Regions from separate parts of the Homo sapiens genome. Here regions 2 and 3 are each linked to region 1. Evidence: promoter capture Hi-C in 16 types of primary human blood cells and fetal thymus (Javierre and others, 2016). All regions are on one chromosome and are shown on one strand. The core of a region is centred on a gene start or on the middle of the fragment in contact, and the rest is flanking DNA. Distances in the headings are between cores, read along the strand shown. Region 1 holds the start of LY6D (lymphocyte antigen 6 family member D). Region 2 has its middle 11 kb from the start of LY6H. Region 3 has its middle 29 kb from the start of LY6H.

What was found. The method cuts DNA at HindIII sites, captures the fragments that hold promoters and counts their contacts. A CHiCAGO score of 5 or more calls a contact.
Region 2: a contact is called between a fragment that was not itself captured here and the fragment with the promoter of LY6D in region 1, in 1 of 17 cell types (M2 macrophages). The highest score is 5.0, in M2 macrophages.
Region 3: a fragment that was not itself captured here is called in contact with the fragment with the promoter of LY6D in region 1 in 1 of 17 cell types (naive CD8 T cells); the score reaches 7.3 in naive CD8 T cells.

What each region holds. Positions count from the first base shown.
Region 1 is chr8:142,785,114-142,788,300 of GRCh38, forward strand. It overlaps LY6D (lymphocyte antigen 6 family member D), which reads right to left and starts at 1,426. Exons shown (of 3, transcript NM_003695.3): 1 at 1,352-1,426; 2 at 476-574; 3 at 1-343. The coding sequence starts at 1,403. The coding sequence ends at 108. The HindIII fragment of the contact is 15,715 bases long and covers 1-3,187 here.
Region 2 is chr8:143,147,669-143,150,855 of GRCh38, forward strand. No RefSeq gene overlaps it. Among named protein-coding and RNA genes, the nearest start is that of LY6H, 11 kb to the right of the region's middle. The HindIII fragment of the contact is 1,177 bases long and covers 849-2,025 here.
Region 3 is chr8:143,129,231-143,132,417 of GRCh38, forward strand. No RefSeq gene overlaps it. Among named protein-coding and RNA genes, the nearest start is that of LY6H, 29 kb to the right of the region's middle. The HindIII fragment of the contact is 2,885 bases long and covers 27-2,911 here.

The DNA.
Region 1 (3,187 bases), core at 176-2,675:
CCCTCAGCCTGGGGCTCCTGGCACCCCCGTTGCGGCTGGGGAAGAGAGGTGTGGAATCCCCAGAGAAAGGGAAGGAAAGGCATGAGGGGCCTTCCCTGGGGGGAAGGTCACAGGCTGGGGGCTAAGATGACGGCCAGGAGGCTCAGGGCCAGCCCCAGGCTGAGGGCACTGTGGGCGAGGGCGGTGCGGGTGGGTGCAGCGTTGTGCAGCTTCTCATTGCACAGGTCCTCCTGGCAGCACTGGGTGGAGCTGGTGCCGCTGCTGACCTGGCCTTGCAGGGTGTAGCTGGGTGTGCACGACTCCGCACAGTCCTTCTTCACCAGATTCCCCCTCAGAGGCTCCACTGGGCACAGGTGAGTGTGGTCAGGCCAGGCAGCCACCTCTGCCCCCCACCTCCCCACAACCTTCCAGCCAACACCCACAACAGCCAGGGATGTCCCCCAGCCCCAGGGACACCTGGACAGATGCTACCCACCTGTGTTCGTGGTCTTGCAGAAGCGAGAGCTGGCCGGGCAGACCACAGAATGCTTGCAGTTGCTGGAGCTGGTGCACACGTGGCAGCGCAGGGTAAGGGCTGGCGGGGAGGGAGTCCGGCTCAGCGGGCCCAACAGAGGCCTCCTGGTGACTCAGCAGGGCCTGCTCCCCCACCTGCAGAGACCCCTCCTGGACAGAGGCCCTGCTGCCCTTGCCCTAGGCCCCCAAACCCGGGCTCTGGGTCCTGGCAGGGCATGTGCCCTGAGTGCAGCCTCAGGGGACATGTATTCCAGCCTGGGCCGGCTTGGAAGAGGTGTCCTGCCCTGCCCCTGTCTAGGGTGTGTTGCAAGCCTTTCCTCCAAGGTCTCAGGGAGCTCTGCGACTGCCAAGAGGACACTGGCTCTTGTCCCCACCCCAGGGGATGTCCCTGGAGGAGATGGCTATGTTTCTGAGGGCCTGACGGAGCTAAGGCCCCGGGGGCAGCCAGCTTGGCTGCTCTGAGCCTATGACAGGAAGGGCTTGGTGGCCTTTGGGCTGTCCTGGGCTGTGCTGGGGGAGACCTGGGGACCGGGAGGGGCTGGTGGCAGGGACTAGATGGCCGCTCTCCCAGTGAGAAGCATCTCAAGACAACCCCCTGCTCCACTCTCTCAGGGTCCGTGACTCCAGGAGTCAGTTCTAAGATCCTCAGATTCTGAAACATTGTAAATCTGACACTCGTTAAGATTCGGGCTCCATGTTGTTTTAAATTTGAAGAGTCTAGCACCCACAGTGTCGGGGTTCTCTGTGCCTAGATGTCGTCAGCTCCAGGCTCCTAGTATTTGGTGACCACACAGGCCACAGCCGCCCACCCGCCCGTCCCCTTGGCCCAGCCCCTCACCTGGCCCTGTAGCCACAGCCAGGGCTGCAAGGAGCAGCAATGCTGTCCTCATCTCTGATGTCGTCTGGGAGCAGTGCGGGCCCCTGCATTGCCAAGGCCTTATAGGCACGGGCTGGGCGGGGGTGGGCAGTCCGCCAGCCAGCGGCATTCTGCAGGGCTCTGTGCAAGCGTCAGCCCAGGACGGGCACCTGCCCCACCCTGCCTGGCCCACGCCCACCAGCCTGGCTGTCGCTGGGCGCTGCCCCTGCTGCCCCCCGCCAGGCAGAGGTCTGCCCTCCGCAACGGGGCCCAGTGGCCTCCTGGCCCTGCTGTTCCTGCTGCTGTGCCTCCATCTCTCCCACTTTCACTTCTCTGTCTCTGTGGGTCTTGTTCTCTCGCTGCCGTCCGTTCCTGGGTCACTTTGTCTCTGACCTGCCACCCGCTACCCCCCGCCCCCCACCCCCCACCATCCATCACCATCCTGTGTCTTTGTCCCTGCATTCCCCCCATAGTTCCCTCAATAGAGTTGCAGCCTGTGCCCGGTGCCCTGTGGGTGCCCGTGGGTGTCCAGGGCAGGGGAGGTAGGAAGGGCAGGTGCTGGTCCTACTCTCCTGGCTCTGGGCTCAGGGTTGCTGCCGGGGATGCAGAAGGTCCTTGAGCTGCAAGGGCTCGGGGTGGCTGTGGGCTGATGGGGTGTGTGAGGCAGAGGCAGAGGCAGAGGCCACTCCGAGGCAGGGAGGGCAGCTGGGGCAGCAGTGAGGTGAGCACTGGACAGAGTGAGGACTGTGAGGACCCGGCCCTCGAAGTTGCCTGGGGAGCCCTGTGGGCAGAAGGCCCGGGCTGTGGAGGCAGCAACTCCACCCTGCGTTGTGCAGGGAGAGACTGAGCCCTCCTGGTCTCCACCAGCCCTGCCTCCCGCCCTCCAGGGCCCCAGAAGCCCTCCCCGTGGGATTCCTTCCCCCACTCTCCAGGCCCCTCCTGCTACGTTGGGGGCAGCGCCATCCCGGCCACTTTGTAACTATTGCTCTAGGTGTCCCGGCTCCAGTCTCCCCAAAATCGTGAACTCTTTGGGGCTGGGCCCCAGCACCCAGGGCCTCAAAGCAGGTTCTTGGTCTGCTGCCCGTTGAGTGGAGGCCAGTCCCCGCCTTCACCCTCTTTATACTCACAGGAGGGACTTTCTTTCCCTGGAGACGGGGTCTCTGAGCACCCACCGCCTCGCGCAGGAGCCCACCTCTTGGGGCCCCCATCCACCTGCTCAGCCCAGCACGCTCTGCCGCTCGCCTGTGCTGGGCAGCACCCACCTGAGTGGTGTGGAGGGGCCCACAGACTTGCTTTGCCCCTGCCCTGGCTAGGCTGAAGGTGAGTGGGAGCCGGGGCACAGATGGAGGTCAGCCCTGGGCCCAGCCTCCTGCCGCCGCTGCCACGTGGCTGATGAACAGACAACAACAGGCCCAGGGCAGGGCAGGGCCGGTTCCGAGGAGGGTGGTCCTGGGCTGGGCTGAGGCTTTTGGGAGCACCGTGGGTACTGGGGCCAGTCAGGCCTGGGCTTGAGACAGACCCTCTGGCCCTTCCTCCCGGCATCTCTCCCTTGCTGAGCCCCACGTCTCAGATGCCGGGGATCCCAGCAAATGTCTCCTGAGAATGCTCCTGGCCGGGCTCTCCCTGACACAGTGCCGGGGCCTGGAGGATCCACCTACAGGAGGGGTTGCCTGGTGGTGCCTTTAGAAACCAGGGTGCAGGCGGGAGCCCCCTGGGGCAGCCCCACATTTGCATCTGGTGCCTGGCCCTGGCTGGAGCTTGGTGGGGACGTGTGTAGTCTCACTTGCCAAGGCAGGTGACCCAAAGGTCCATGCCCCC
Region 2 (3,187 bases), core at 187-2,686, 360 kb after region 1:
GGACAGACCTGAATTCCGGGATCCCTGCTCCAAAGAGCCACACCCATCTCACCTGGGAGTGTGGGGACAGGGGAGGGAAGGCCAGGGTCAGTGGCCTGGGGAGGAAGAGTGCGAACCCAGCCCCAGCACCCACAGCCAAGCCACGCTGCTCCGAGCACCGCCATGGGCCAGGGAAGTCTGGGACCTGGCCTCACCGCTGCCTCAAAACCCTCTCTCACCCACCCAGAGATTTCCCAGCTGGACACTCAGCGGTTTTCCCAGAGCCTCTGGTTCTCCATTGCTGAGCCAGTGATGCATGGCTGCTTCCAGCCAGCCCCCAGTGCCGAGAGAAGGAGCCCCCGTGACATTAGGGGAACTTGAGGACAGTGGTGGGGAGGGCAGAGAGGCTCTGCTCTAGCCGGGGGATTCTGGAGCTTCAGCCAGGAGGGCCACTGTCAGGCGAGGGGCCGGGGGAGGCCCCCAGCCCCAGACTCTCCTGTTCCTTGAGGGCCTGACTCTCAGCCACTCCCACCTTCCAGTTCTCCAGGACGCCCCCACCCCAGTATCCTGCGGTGCCCACCTCAGCCCAGTCAGCATCGGGGGGCCCTGCCCCACCCATAACTCACCTATGCCCTCGCTGGGTGGCCCAGGCCCGCCCTCCCCAGGCCAGGTCCTGGGCCTCCTGGGCGCCTCCATCCACCCCATGCCCGTCAGGCCTCACCTCCTGCATCCCACCAGGACCTCCCAGATGGGCACCCACCCCCATCATGGGCTGCAGACTACAGCTGGCCAGCCTTTCTAGGATCCCAGACCTGAGCCCATAGCTGGGGCTCAAAGGCATTAAGGCCGGCCTGGTCCTCCTGGATTCAAGCTTCTTGGGCCACCAGGTTTTGTTCGTCACTGTCCTCTCTGTCCCCTAATAACGTTCACTGCTAGAAATGACCACCTGACACACCCTCCCACGCTCAGGACCTGGGGCACAGGCCTCGCTGGTAAAAGCCCACATGGGAGGGGAGTGAGCCCCGCAGCTCAGGCATCAAGACTGCAGGGAGCAGCAGGTGCCCCCATCCCAGCTCTGCAGCCCCTGTCTCCCGCTCTGGGCCTCTTGGTTCTGATCTGCTCCTCTCTGCGTGTCTTAGCTGTGCCGAGGGGGCACGGACAGATGCATTTCAAACTCACGTCAGCAAGCATGGACAGGTGCAGAAACCAACACAAGAGAGAATGAGCCACCGGGTGGAGTCAATCAATGAACACATTTAGCCCCCTCCCCTCCAGTTCACCCACACCCACCAGGTGGGGCTAGAGCCTTACAGTGGGAAGGGGCTCACGGGGGCCGGAGCATAAGGGGGGACCGCAGAGCCCAGGAGGAGCAGGGGCCACCGGCCACCCACGTGTGCAGGCCTTCCCTGCCCAGTGAGGGGACAGAAGACCAGGCCTGGGACTCCCGGGCACCCAGGATGGGACAGCACAGGGAGGGCCTCAGAAATGCTCCAGGGCAGAGGGACAGACGCCAGGGAGAGGCGATTCCAGGAACCACCCTCGTGTGCCCTTCTGGGGATGGGAGACGTCCCCTGCACCTGTGAGCTTAGGTCTGAGTCAGCATGTTCTGCATCCCTGCAGGAAACACAGGGAGCAGGGGTGGTGGGCCTGGGACCCCCTGGGGGTGAGGCGTGGTCCACAGGCCCCTAGGCTGCAGGGGCCACAGGTTCCTGCCCTCAGTGGAGGGAGGACTCACTGGAGGCTGGGTGTGGGAAAACAGCACCCCTATGCTGCCCGGCCCTGAATCCCCCAGCCCACAGTGCCAGCACAGCCCCAGCACACACGGGGCCTCGAAGTGCAGGGGTGAGCCCCAGGCCTGGGCACCACGCAGCTTCCAACTGGGTTCCTCCATCGGGCGCTGGGTAATCGCCAGCCCTGCTCCGCCTGAGAAGAAAGCAGGAGAGGTTCCCTTTAAGCATCGGAGGAGGGAAGATTTTTCTATGACTCAAATCCTGAAGCTGTAAGAAATAATGGTAATAGTGTCTCCATAAAAATTCAAGGAAAAGAAGCTTCCATGTGGCAAAAAAAAAGAAAAAAGAAAAAAAAACTCACAAAACACCATAAGCAAAATAAAGGGGGAAATGTGTGTCACTCTTATTATAAATGAAGGGCTTATTTCCCAGCTATGCAGAAAGTTCCCAGAAAAGAGTAAGGAGACCAACCATCCCACAGCAAAGGGACCGAGGTTATGAGCAGAGAGGCCAGAGAAATGGAAACCATCCCCACACACCCCCCAACAAAAGACAAAGAAATCAAAATGCCCAGAACGAGAAGACGGGCATGCACGAACCAATAAGGGGCACGTGCCAGGAGCCAAGGGTGACGGCGCCTCCAGGTCCCCATACCTGTGGTCCAACTTCCAAAATTCAGAACACAGCTGCAATGCCGTCTTTCATTGCTGACCAGACTCACGGAAGTCCAACGGCAACAGAGAAGCTGTGGTCTCAGGCATCGCTACTGGAAGTGTGAAAGTGTGCAGCCCCAGGACAACCATGCTCACTCATCAGTTACAGGCCCAGCAAGACTGACTCTGGAGATGTGTCCCCACACGCAGCAGCTAGCTGACATGTCTGAGGCTATGCATTACAGCCTTGTAACTGGAGCATGAGTGAGACCATCTAAATATGCAGAAACAGGCCAGGCGCGGTGGTTCACGCATGTAATCCCAGCACTTTGGGAGGCCAAGGCCAGCAGATCACTTGAGGTCGGGAGTTGGAGATCAGCCTGACCAACATGGTGAAACCCCATCTCTACTAAAGATACAAAAATTAGCCAGGCATGGTGGCACACACCTGTAATCCCAGCTACTTGGGAGGCTGAGGTACAAGAATCTCTTGAACCCAGGAGGCAGAGGTTGCAATGAGCCAAGATGACACCACTGCACTCCAGCCTGGGCGACAGAGTAAGACTCTGTCTCTAAATAAATAAATAAGCAGACACAGGAGTATGTGTGCTGTGCGATGCTGCTGTTAAGAACGGAGTGGGGAGCTGGCTCTGCGCCATCACAGAAAGATCTCCAGGCTGCACTGAGAGGCAGAAAGAGTAAACGACCTCAGCTGTAAAGGACTTTCTTGTCCTTGTATAAAGACATCCTGAACGGGTACACAGGAAACCGGTCAGATAATGACAGGGCAGGAGACACACTTCTCAAGGTAGACTTCTTTTTTAA
Region 3 (3,187 bases), core at 219-2,718, 340 kb after region 1:
GAAAGCTCCTTTTGGGTTTTTATGGAAGCTTCATTACATATACATGATTGATTGCATCGTTGGCTATTGATGATCAACCCAAACTTCATCACACTCACTACAAAAGAGACTCTTGTCACTCCAGAGATTCCAGGAAGGAGCTAAGCTGTATCTCACGCTCTCACGACACTCTATTCTGGACTTGGCTTATTTGTAACAGAAGCAACCTTGGGAACAGCATGAGGTGTTTAGAATGGTGAGTCCTCTGTCAATTTCAGCCGACTTGGACCTACTTCTTCTGATCCAGGTACCCACTCTTGCTGGCACCAGGACACTGAGACGGTCCAGGAAACACGGCAAGCATACGTGTGCACCACACTGCTCGTCCCGTCCAGCTGTGGCCATGCTGAAAATTGCAATGGGCCACTGGAAGACAGGTTATTCAGGCAGGTGTGAGAAACGTGACCAGTTGGTGGAGTCGCTTAACTGGGGTGTCTTCAGACTGAGCCTGAGGGGAAGGCAGGCAGGCCGCTCACAGGCTTCAGGGCTGGGGGAAGGAGGAGGGCGTGTGGGGGGTGCAATTGGACCCTCTGTACCTTCCCCACCTCCCAAAGGTTTCTCTTCTTCTGCCTGAGCCAGTGGTCCCAGGACCCCATGCCCAAGCACTAAAGTGGGCGGCACAGGCTCCAGAAGGGACATTAGACTGGTCATGACTGGACCCCATGGCGGGACTTCCTGCAAATGTGGCCAGCAGGAGGGCTGCCCCGTGGCTCCTCACCGGCGAGTCCTGTGGCAGCAGCAGGCCGAGACACAGCACCACAGGGCTGTGCCGGGTGCCTGCTCGAAGGCAGAGCTGCAGTGGGGGATCCAACAGGAACCGTGGAAATGGGGGGCTCCTGCAGGCAGGGGGATACCCACAGGGTCCCGTGATCCTGCAGGGGTGCAAGTGGCTCCTTCCGTGATGGCCCTAGAGCAAGAGGGTAATACTCTTGCCACCTCTCCCAGACCTGGGGCCAAGTAAAGGCTGATGATAAAGAAGCCAGAGGTGCTTTTCCCAGAGATGGGAATCGGATTCCTGCTGACTTCACCTGAGTAATTCAGAGCACGAGGGAAGCTGCACCTCCAGGGGCGCTCCTGACAGGTAACCCACTGGAGCTGCTATTCCGCAGCAGAGGCACCAGCCAGAAAGATCCGAAAGAAACATTTTCAAAAGTGGACCAAGATGGCTGCAGTTTGGCCACACGGGTAGTAGGAGGCAGGCCTGGCCTATGAGGCTGGAATCTGCATTGTCTCACTGACGTGTCCTGGTCACTGCCGTGCCTGTCAGATGAGGCAGGACAGAACAGTCGCCCCTGCAGACCCTGAGGCTCCAGTAGGTGCCAGCTTTCCACCCTGTGTGCCAGCCACGTGTCCACTCCACCTGTGTACAAGGCACCGAGGCCAGGCAGGACTGCGAGGTCCCCCTGAGCGCACTGCCCCTCTCAGGCTGTGGAACCACCCCTCCTGCCTCCTCAGCCGATGGAACCTGTGTTCCGGGTTGCCACTCACTCTTGGCTCAGCATAAAACGCACTTTGGCTTCTCTAAGTCTGCAGTGCCCATGAGTGCGGCCTCCAGCCGTCGCTGCCGTCTGCCCCTCTCGGAGGACAGATGAGAACAGTGCAGGGATCCCAGGGTGGGGAATGCCCAGGAGCCTGGCCTCCACTCTGGGGTGACCCCGGACCTGCCAGGCGCTGCCTGCATGTGGAGGGGGCATTGCTGCCTCCTCCCTGCCTCAGAGCTTGATCTGCGAGTCCGAACGTGCCAAGTGTGAACCAGCCCCAGCGATCTCCAGGCAGAAACAGATGCATTGGTCTCATGAGGGTTGGCCCCACCCTGCTGAAGGTTTGGGGAGATTTTAGAATTTGGTCTTGGGGCCCTGAGTGCGGCAGAAACAGTGTCCCTGCACGCTCATCATGAAGAGCAGGAGGCTTGTTATCCTGAGTAGGGACAGCAGAGGGCGACCTCTTCCAGGATCCAGACACAGGCCCGGGAGGCTGTAAAGGCCACTCATACGGGAATCGATGGAAATCGGACACCCGTCCCCAGCCCTGGGCCAGTGTGCATCCTTCCTCACCCAGGAGGGGCTACTGAACACTCTCATCCCTGGCATCTGATGCTGTAGAGGTCAGAGGCCAGGTCGGGGCCGGGCAGTAGCCTGAGTCCTGAGGGAGCAGTGCTGACAACGGCCCCTCAACCCATCGCTGTTCTCCCGCAGCCTGAGTGCCACCAATGTAAAAGGACAGCTGTGTGGGCCGCATGTGCCCGGAATGAGGCCCCCTGCTCCCTCAGCCGCGTTCTCATGGGTGAACAAAGACCGTGATGGAACCCACCTGAGCCCCTGAGCCGGCTGGACTGGATTATCCTCCCTATGCGTGGATAATCAGAGCCGGGATTATTCCCCTTAAATATTCCTCTTCCCACTGGCAGTTCTGATTCTCTTTGGACAACTGTTAGGAAACTGAAAAACCTAACAGTGTGTCCTCCTTTCCTGGCCAAGGAAGAAACCACCGTTTAGCTTCTTCATGCCCCAGCCAAAGAGCAGGCGATGGAGGCCCAGAAAACCAACCCCACGCTGTCTGACACAGCTCTCGAGACCCGGTCATCTAAGGCAGCTGTTTGCAAGGCTCTCCTGGGCTGCACCTGCCACCACTTCTCACAACCCACCTTAGCTCCAGTCTGCAGAGCCCCTGCGAAGGCTGAGTTAGAGAACGCTGAGCCCCTGCTGCTAGCAGACACACAGGGTTAGGGTCCCGCAAGCCTCTGGCTCCGTTTTCATCAGCCGATCAATATATCATCTCATTCTCTGTGTTTCTATTTAAAGATCCCTTACTGAATGCACGTGGTGGCTTCATTAACATTGCAATCGGTGCCAAGCACCGTAAGCCTGGACAAAGCTTCTCTGACCCAGGCATTCCTTGCCTAGGACGTGAGGCAGCACCTCGGGACAATGCTTGGGGACATTGCAAACAGCAAAGTCACCCACAAAAAGCACAAAAATGCAAAAAAAAAAAAAATGGCACCAGATAGACCACGAAAAGGGCTCTTGATTGCAGCACAAGCTGGAGCAAGAAGGCCGCCCTGCGCAACCTCAGCCAAGAACGCACTCCGGTGACTCAGAATTGTCGCCGCTCCGTGCAAGTAAGTGTTTGGGGATTACAGCTTCTTTTT